Regions from separate parts of the Homo sapiens genome. Here region 1 is linked to region 2. The links are contacts of gene promoters, found by promoter capture Hi-C in human tissues and cell types (Jung and others, 2019). All regions are on one chromosome and are shown on one strand. The core of a region is centred on a gene start or on the middle of the fragment in contact, and the rest is flanking DNA. Distances in the headings are between cores, read along the strand shown.

Region 1 (4,511 bases), core at 1,023-3,522, 500 kb before region 2:
TTTTTTTCTAAACGGGAAATGCGTTCAAATAAATGAGATCCTTCACAACAACCCAAGACCTGCCCAAAGTCACCCTCTTTGCAGGGGAAATATTAATATCCATCTTAGAGAGCAACCTGGTCTTTCATCTACATACTGCCAGAAACACAATGGAAATTCCACTTCTTCCTGAAGATAAATTCCAGGTGTCTTGCAGACAAATATTATTCATTAAAGCATTTTTCTAAAGTAGAAGGGTCAACCAAGCTGTGATGATTCTTTGATGGTTAAAAAAAAAAAAGCTTTTAAGTTTCATAATTCACAATTCCGGTACTTTCCAATAGGAAGTTCCACGTTCTGTTCTAAGACCACCAGAAAATAGGTTTACAAGTGAATTGCATCCTACCTGCCCACTTCTCCCATCTTTTCGGGCCTAGTAAATGTGACTTACTTTGCATTTCAATAACCTTTGCCAATAGTACTCTATCGCTGATATCTCCGAAATCATAAATCCTAAAATATTTTCAGTAAGATACTATTTAGGACGGGATAATAAATATATGAGTTACAGTATAAAGCCGGGCCCAGTGGCTCATGCCTGTAATCCCAACAGTTTGGGAGGCTGAGGCGGGAGGATCACTTAAAGCCAGGAGTTCAAGACCAGCCTGGGCAACACAGTAAGACCCCATCTCTATAAAAAATACAAAAAATTAGCCGGGAGTGATGGTCCACACTTGTAGTCCCAAGCTACCTGGGAGGCTGAGGTGGGAGGATCACCTGAGCCCAGGAGGTTGTTGCTGCAGTGAACTGTGATGGCACCACTGCACTCCAGCCTGGGTGACAGAAGGAGACTGTCTCCAACTGAAGAAACAACAACAACAACAAAAAGGCGGGGCACAGTGGCTCATACCTGTAATCCCAGCACTTCGGGAGGTCAAGGTGGGTGGATCACTTGAGGCCAGAAGTTCAAGACCAGCCTGGCCAACATGGTAAAACTCCGTCTCTACTAAAAATACAAAAACTAGCCAGGTGTGGTAGCACACACTTGTAATCCCAGCTACTTCAGAGGCTGAGGTGGAGCTTGCAGTGAGCTGAGACTGTGTCACTGCGCTTCAGCCTGGGCTACAGAGCGAGACTCCATCTCAAAAAAACAAAAACAAAAAAACACAAAAAACAAACAAAAAAGCACAAAAAACAACAACAAAACCAAACAAACAAAAAACAAGATACAGTATAAACATGTGGAAAACCATAAAAATGGAGGGTCAATGTTAAAAACAGTTTAAATTCATTACTCAACATTAAACATCTAGTGATGCGTAATGATGTTAAAAGACTGTCTTGTATGTAAGCAGCTCACAGTTGTGTGGGACGTATAAAACACATGTATATATGCAGGTATGTTTGTGTGTATGAATGTGTAACATATACATAAAAACTAAAAAGGAGGGTGAGGATGAAGAGAGATGATAAACTCTCGGGTGTTTGATGTAGTTGCTAAGTAAGGAAAATGGAGGTGCGAAGGCTTGCTAATTGTGCTCGAACTTACAGAGTAGAGGAACTGTGGAACTGAGATCAGGCCAGACTTGACCCCTGATTGAGCACAGGAAGCCCAGGTGAATGCCAGTAAGATGACGGGGCACTGCTAAAAATGCACTAGGACAGGAAGGTGGCTCTGGCTTTGGAGAAGATAGAAAAATCTAGTTTGGGGCAAACCATTTTTGAAAAGTTGGCACGTTACCAAATGGCAGCACCTAACAGCTAACTGGTGATATAATTCTGGAGCAAAGATACACCAAAGCCCACCAAACTGTTCAACTCACTCGTGCCTCACAAAACCACCAGTGGCTTAATACTCTAGACTTTTCAATAATTACCAAAGTAGTCCTAAATATTCCCATACCCTACCTGATGTAGTCCCTTCTACAGGTCTTAAGCACTTTTTACCTTTTCATCCCATTCAATGAAATCACTAGGGGGCAGCAGGGCTGGGCCATGGAGGTAGACCTCATTCAAGCTAGCACTGGTAAAGTGTCCACTGTGTGACAGTCACTTGAGACACATCACATAGGATGTGAGTACCCCAGAGTACACATCACATAGGATGACATCACATCACATCACATAGGATGACACAGATCTGTTACCCACCGATTCATTTACAAAATCAAATGTCAGAAAACTCTGAGCTAAAATGTCTGCCACCTTTCACTAGATTCAAGTTTGGGGGACTACTACCTAAATAAATAAGCTGTGTTTCGTGAAATTCAGTACATTCCTACACAGATCAATAACAACACATGGGAGAACAGGTTCACTTGACACCTTAGCTAGCTTGATGTAGGACCTCTGCCAAATTACCTCTGTACCTATGTTTTCTTGTCTGTTATATTTCAATCTTGATTTTATAAGTTTAAAACTGACCATAAAAACATTTCCTAAGTACCAAGTGCTATATAATTCTGCCATGCTCCTGGGTAGACCCAACAGGCCTGAGGCTACACTGGGCTGGCAGGAGTGCGTGTAGAACAGGAACAGATCAGCAGAGCGTGCCAATTCAGGACACCTGAAGTCAAGGTCTGTGCTGCAAACTCCCTGCCACTACTGAGCAGTGTCCTTTCTACTGCCCATTAGGGACAGTCTATTGATTATGAAAGATTAAAGTAGTCAATTACAGCCTCAGTAATTTAGGAAACCCTACTTTCGGCTCCAAGTGTGACTAAAATCCTTGACAGGCAAATCACTTTTCCTTACTCAAATCAACCACGTATCTGCATGTCTATGAAGGGTGGAGAGAATGTAGAGAAGGCACAAACCTAAGACTCGGTTTCTGCCCTCAAGGAGCTGATAATTTGGAAAGGAGAAATCACGTCACAAGCAAAGGACTGCAGAAAATCTGGAAGATAGCAATGAGAACAGTTTCACCAGGGTGGAGCAGTTGGGAGCCAGGATATGCAGCACAGCAGAGAGCAACAGAAGTGGGACTCCACTTCCAGATGGCAGATGGGGCCAATACTGAACCCTTAGGGTGAGCCAGAAAAGATCTGTAGGTGTCAAAGGAGACTGAGAGAGGGTAACTATAAAAAGAAGCCAATGTACAGAGTAGATGTTATGAGGGTAGGGATGTATCCAGTAAGTAGATGCAACAGAAAGTTGAGTGCTCAAGGCTGGGCATGGGCATGTGGCTCCGGCCTGTAGTCCCAGCACTTTGGGACTGTGATTGTGCAACTGCACTCCAGCCTGGGCAACAGGGCAAGACTATGCCTCCAAATTATGAGACACATCTCATTTAAACCTCCCAACAGAGGAGTTTCTAGCTCTCATTTGGGGAAAGTAGGGCCCAGAAGGGTAAAGTAGTGTAAACCAAAGAAAATGACTGGCCGGACGCCATGGCTCACACCTGCAATCCCGGCACTTCGGGAGGCCAAGGTGGGGAGATCACTTGAGCTCAGGAGTTTGAGACCAGCGTGGGGAACACGGCAAAACCCCATATCTACAAACAGGTAACATTTGGGTTTTTGACAATCATCAAAAATGGTTAAGCTTTCAAAGGTCAAGCCTTTGATAAATACCATTTATACTACCTATTATAAACCATAGTAGTATAGAGAAGAGTGGTCACTTAAAGAGTAGGTAATGGGTATACAGGTCACTATATTATGCTTTGGTTCGTGTTCTAAATTTTCTACATTTTTCTGTAATGTTTTGCATATTCAAACAATCCAACTATACAAAGTCATCTTTGCAAAAACTGGGAAAAACTGAACACTGGGTACTGGAAAAACTGTTGGTTAAAGAAAAAAAAGAAGCCCTTATCTGTTAGAAACATACTCAAGTATGAAAAGTATGTAAGAGGCCGGGTGTGGTGGCTCACACCTATAATCCCAGCACTTTGGGAGGCTGAAGCGGATGAATCACAAGGTCAGGAGTTCAAGACCAACCCGGCCAACATGGTGAAACCCCATCTCTACTAACAGTACAAAAATCAGCTGGGCACAGTGGCAGGTGCCTGTAATCCCAGCTACTCGGGAGGCTGAGGGGTGGTGGCGGAGGCTGCAGTGAGCTGAGATCGCGCCACTGAGCTCTAGCCTGGGAGGCAGAGTGAGACTCCATCTCAAAAAAAAAGGCCGGGCTCGGTGGCTCACACCTGTAATCCCAGCACTTTGGGAGGCCGAGGCAGGCAGATTACCTGAGGTCGGGAGTTCGAGACCAGCCTGACCAACATGTAGAAACCCTCTGTTTCTGCTCTATCTCTGCTAAAAATACAAAATTTGCCAGGTGTGGTGGCACATGCCTGTAATCCCAGCTACTCGGGAGGCTGAGGCAGGAGAATCGCTTGAACCCAGGAGGCGGAGGTTGTGGTGAGCCGAGATAGTGCCACTGCATTCCAGCCTGGGCAACAAGAGTAAAACTCTGCCTCAGAAAACAAAACAAAACAAAAAACAAAAAAAACAAAGAAAGAATATATAAGATACATCTACTACGGTAGCCATAAAAATTGAAACAAAAATTGCTCTAAAGTATGTAATATT
Region 2 (4,818 bases), core at 761-3,260:
ACAAAAAATTATCAAGCTATTTCAGCCGGTGTGGTGGCGAGTGCCTCTAGTTCCGGCTGCTGGGGAGGATGGCTTGAGGCTGCAGTCGGCAGGGATCATGCCATGGCACTCCAGCCTGGGCAATAGAGAGACCCTGTCCCTAAAAAAAAGAAACAGTATCCAATAGCTATTTATTTATTTATTGAGTCAGGGTCTCACTCTGTCGCCAAGGCTGGAGTGCAGTGGTGCGATCGCAGCTCACTGCAACCTCTGCCTCTCAGGTTCAAGTGATTCTCCTGCCTCAGCCTCCCGTAGGCCCGGCTAATATCTGTATTTTCAGTAGAGACGGGATTTCACCATGCTGGCCAGGTTGGTCTCGGAATTCCTGACCTCAGGTGATCCGTCCACCTCCGCCTCCCACAGGGCTGGGATTACTGGTATGAGCCATAGCGCCCGGCCAGTAACCATTTACTGAAATAGGGCTAGTCTCTCAGTGAGAGAGCACGGAAAAACCACAAAGTATCTTTTTTTTTTTTTTTTTTTTTTTTTTTTTTTTTTTTGAAACAAAGTCTTGCTCTGTCGCCCAGGCTGGAGTGCAGTGCCGTGATGTCGGCTCACTGCAACCTCCCCCTCCCGGGTTCAAGCTATTCTCCTGCCTCAGCCTCCCGAGTAGCTGGGGTTACAGAAACCCGCCATCGCGCCCGGCTAATTTTTTCCATTTTTAGTAGAGCTGGAGTTTCGCCATGTTGGCCAGGCTGGTCTCGAACTCCTGACCTCAGGTGATCCGTCTGCCTCAGCCTCCCAAAGTGTTGCGATTACAGGCGTGAGACACCGCGCCAGCTTCCCCCCGCCCCCATCCCCCCCCCTTTTTTTTTTTTTTAACGACTCGAGGTGCGCTGGCTCACGCCTGCAATCCCAACAGTTCGGGAGACGAAGGCGGGAGGATCGCTTGAGCCCTGGGCTTGGGCCACCTTGGGCAACACAGCGAGACCCCATCGCAACAAAAATTTACAAAAAAAAGCCAGGCGTAGTGGCGCGCGCCTGTGGTCCCAACTACTGGAGAGGCAGAGGGGAGCCACCACACCCGGCTAATTTTTTTATTACTTGCGGAGACGGGGGCTCGCTACGTTGCCCAGGCTGGTCTCGAACCCCTGAGCTCAAGCGATCCTCCCGCCTCAGCCTCCCAAAGTGCTGCGATTGCTGAGATTACACGCGTGAGCCACTCCCACCTGGCTACAACTCAGTAGTTATACAAACTACCCTCTATGAAATTCAGACAATAATACACCAACTGCTGTCTTGGAGATTTATTGGCAACAAGGCGCCACGATAAGCATCCTACGGCCATTACTTCCTTCCCCCCACCAGGACTGACCCCTCGCCCGTACCCACCGCCCAGCGCCTCTTTTACCACATGTTTAGGACAAATTGTCACATTCGACTTTGAAAACCACCCACGGAAAGCAAGCGCGATCACCCCTACCTCAACGCTGAGGTACCGAGGCCCAGAGAGGTCGGCAACTTAAAGTTGATTTACCAGAGACAGAAATCGGCACCCACCCGGGTCCTTCCCTTCCCGCACCCCCAAATTCTACGGCCTTTCCGGGCAACGCCAGCAACAGGGGCAACTTGCCGCTTCCCGACCCCCGGACGCCCCGCAGTATTCAGGCTCCCCTCACTTGCGAACGTATTTCCGGGCTTCTGTCTCGTCATAAAACTGCGAAAAAGAGAAAATGGCATGTAGAGGAATAATTCAGACGCGGTGGCCGCAGAAGTGGGGAGAGGGGTGTCCGCGGGCCCCGGGACTTACCAGCTCTGGGGGTCCGCCATGCTCCGGACGCCGGCCGCGGGACGCCATTCTCACGCCTCAGCAGCACACCTGCGACTGGCGCCTGCCGGCACCCGGTTTTTATGTCATCAGCCCGGCGACCGCTTAGTAATACGCATGTTCCACCCCCACGACCGCCCCGCCCCCCCCTTTACGTGACTGGCCACAGGGCGACCAACCGACTCCTCTCATTGGCCGGTTTCTCTTGCACCGCCTGCCGAATCAATTCAACATGGCAGCCATGCGCTGGCGATGGTGGCAGCGGCTGTTACCTTGGAGGTTGCTGCAGGCCCGTGGCTTTCCACAAAATTCTGCACCCAGCCTGGGCCTAGGAGCGAGGACTTATTCCCAGGGCGACTGCTCGTATTCGCGCACGGCGCTGTATGATCTGCTCGGCGTCCCCTCCACAGCCACGCAGGCCCAAATCAAGGCGGCTTACTACCGTCAGTGCTTTCTCTACCACCCGGACCGCAACTCCGGGAGCGCGGAGGCCGCCGAGCGCTTCACGCGCATCTCCCAGGCCTACGTGGTGCTGGGCAGTGCCACCCTCCGTCGCAAGTATGATCGCGGCCTACTCAGCGACGAGGACCTGCGCGGACCTGGCGTCCGGCCCTCCAGGACGCCCGCACCCGACCCCGGCTCGCCGCGTACCCCGCCGCCCACCTCTCGGACCCACGACGGTTCTCGGGCCTCCCCCGGCGCCAACCGCACGATGTTCAACTTTGACGCCTTCTACCAGGCCCACTACGGGGAACAACTGGAGCGGGAACGGCGCCTGAGGGCCCGGCGGGAGGCCCTTCGCAAACGGCAGGAGTATCGGTCCATGAAAGGCCTCCGCTGGGAGGATACCCGAGACACGGCTGCCATTTTCCTCATCTTTTCAATCTTCATCATCATCGGCTTTTATATTTAATCGGAGAGAGAAGGGAAGGGGAGTGTCCCCAGCCAACCCCCCAGAAACGGCCTTTTTTCCTGCCTCTGAACCCTTGGCCATTGATAGTCTACCTTTGCTGGGATCCGAAGGAACTGTACTCCCCCTGCCCTCCCCGACCCGCCCAGCTTAGCCGATGACCTGCACATCGCTCCACTGTGGTCCAGAAAAGGAGGCCTTTCGATGTCTGAGAAAGAGGCCCCACGCTGTAGAGTCCCGAAAGCCCAGGAGTGAAGGGGGTTCCTGGAGTCTCTAGGGTGCTTCTTCCAGAGTCTGTCTTCTTGCTTCCAGATGTGGTCAACTTCTGGAACACTCGCTGTAGCTTTATTGTTTAGCCCCAAGCAAGATTTATCTCCTCCTGCCCCGCATGTGTATGGTGGGCCTCTGTAACCTTGAAATGTGCAATGTGACCAATTGTTGACTACCAAAAGAAAAGGTCTGGGGTTGTACGAAACTTGTCTTTCTGTGACTTCCCCAAGCCGCAGGTGAGACCTGGTCCAGGGTAAGAATGGGATCGGTGGAGAGCCTGTCGTTCCTCCCGCTAAGGTCAGCCCCCTGGGGCACTCCTCCTTATGTTGATAGCATGTAGGAGTGAGAAAAAGTCATTGAGCATAAGGAATGAGTGTTCCTGTGCCCATATTTAATGTGTGACCTTGGAGAAGTTACTCTGTAGGCATGACAGCAGAGGAGAAAATCATTTGGCATCTTGAGGTCTGTCATGCTTTATTATCCATAGTTTTTGGGGGGTTTTTTGTTTTGTTTTGTTTTTGAGATGGAGTCTTGCGCTCTGTTGCCCAGGCTGGAGTGCAGTGGTGCGATCTTAGCTCACTGCAACCTCCACCTCCCGGGTTCAAGCGATTCTCCTGCCTCAGCCTCCTGTGTAACTGGGATTACAGGCTCCCACCACACCTGGCTAGTGTTTTGTATTTTTAGTAGATACGGGGTTTCACCATGCTGGCCAGACTGAGGTCTCGAACTGCCGACCTCAGGCTGTCTGCCCGTCCAGCCTCCCAAAGTGCTGGGATTGCAGGCATGAGCCACTGCTCCCGGCCCTATTATCCATAGTTCTAATCCACAGGGATTACAGCATAATGCTAGCAGGGCCAGGTTCATCCTTGAGACAGTGTGGCTGGCTGTCACCTGGTCCTCCCTTTACCAGCCAGCCCCATTGCACACTGTGCAGCCCATCCCCTCCCAGAAATAGAGTGACAAACTCTGCACTTAAGTCCCCTGTTTCTGTTTAACTTGCAGTGCTTATCACAGGCCCTTCCTTAATTTTTTAAACAAGGCTGCTTGAGGCTGGGGTAAATTTTGGGGCTTTGGGAGTACACAGGACTACTGAGGGACGGGGAGTTGGTGGCTTGGTGTTCATGGTGGAGACTTGGTTCTTTACGCAGAGCAGGCTAAAGGCGTGTTTTTTCTGCTCTGTTTCTAATTCATGTTAAGTAGTTGGTCATCACTTTGGTCAGAGCTGCTGCTGAAGCTCTCTTAACTGTGAGTCACTGGACGTTGGCAGGGAGTTGGCTGTGAGATTGTAGGTGCTCAAGTGTTTCTGTTCGGGACTGAGTGTGAATCTGTAAAAGGGGAAAATCCTCGCAAGAGGTCTACGAGAAGGATGAGGGCCCAAGTCTAGGGTCTAAACAAAGCCAGGAGTGGTTTGGTATATTACTGAGTGCAATCATTGCGTGCCATTCCTGCACTCAATGTATTGTGTAAAATCCTTAGGTAAAATGGGATAAACCCACAGCTGGTCCTACTTGGCCTCTTGAAAACCATTCCATCATTGTGCCAATCTAGCCTGAAAAGGAAAAAAAAAAAGGGAAACCATTGATTGTCTCTTGCCTCGGAGGTTGGGGGTATGCCCCTACTCCAGGCTTTGCAGTGATCATATGATGCAGTAATGAAGATCTGGGGCCTGGCACAACACTTTGGGATCCACCCAAGGCGGGTGGATCACTTGACCTCAGGAGTTGGAGACCAGCCTGGGCAACACGGCAAAACCCCATCTCTACAAAAATCACAAAAATTAGCCGGGTGTGGCAAGTGCCTGTAGTCCCAGCTACTCAGGAGGCTAAGGTGG

The links. Contacts are between HindIII fragments. The study calls those that stand out against the background at their distance.
Region 1: a contact is called between a fragment that was not itself captured here and the fragment with the promoter of DNAJC30 in region 2, in 1 of the 25 tissues and cell types used here (dorsolateral prefrontal cortex).

The regions. Positions count from the first base shown.
Region 1 is chr7:74,181,337-74,185,847 of GRCh38, reverse strand. All of the region lies in intron 1 of EIF4H (eukaryotic translation initiation factor 4H), which reads right to left. Among named protein-coding and RNA genes, the nearest start is that of MIR590, 7.6 kb to the left of the region's middle. The HindIII fragment of the contact is 4,931 bases long and covers 1-4,511 here.
Region 2 is chr7:73,680,645-73,685,462 of GRCh38, reverse strand. It overlaps DNAJC30 (DnaJ heat shock protein family (Hsp40) member C30), which reads left to right and starts at 2,010. Exons shown (of 1, transcript NM_032317.3): 1 at 2,010-4,545. The coding sequence starts at 2,040. The coding sequence ends at 2,720. BUD23 (BUD23 rRNA methyltransferase and ribosome maturation factor) reads right to left here and starts at 1,866. Exons shown (of 12, transcript NM_017528.5): 1 at 1,790-1,866; 2 at 1,659-1,696. The coding sequence starts at 1,837. RefSeq lists enhancers at 1-308, 309-1,158, 2,089-2,258, 2,499-2,588. The HindIII fragment of the contact is 30,091 bases long and covers 1-4,818 here.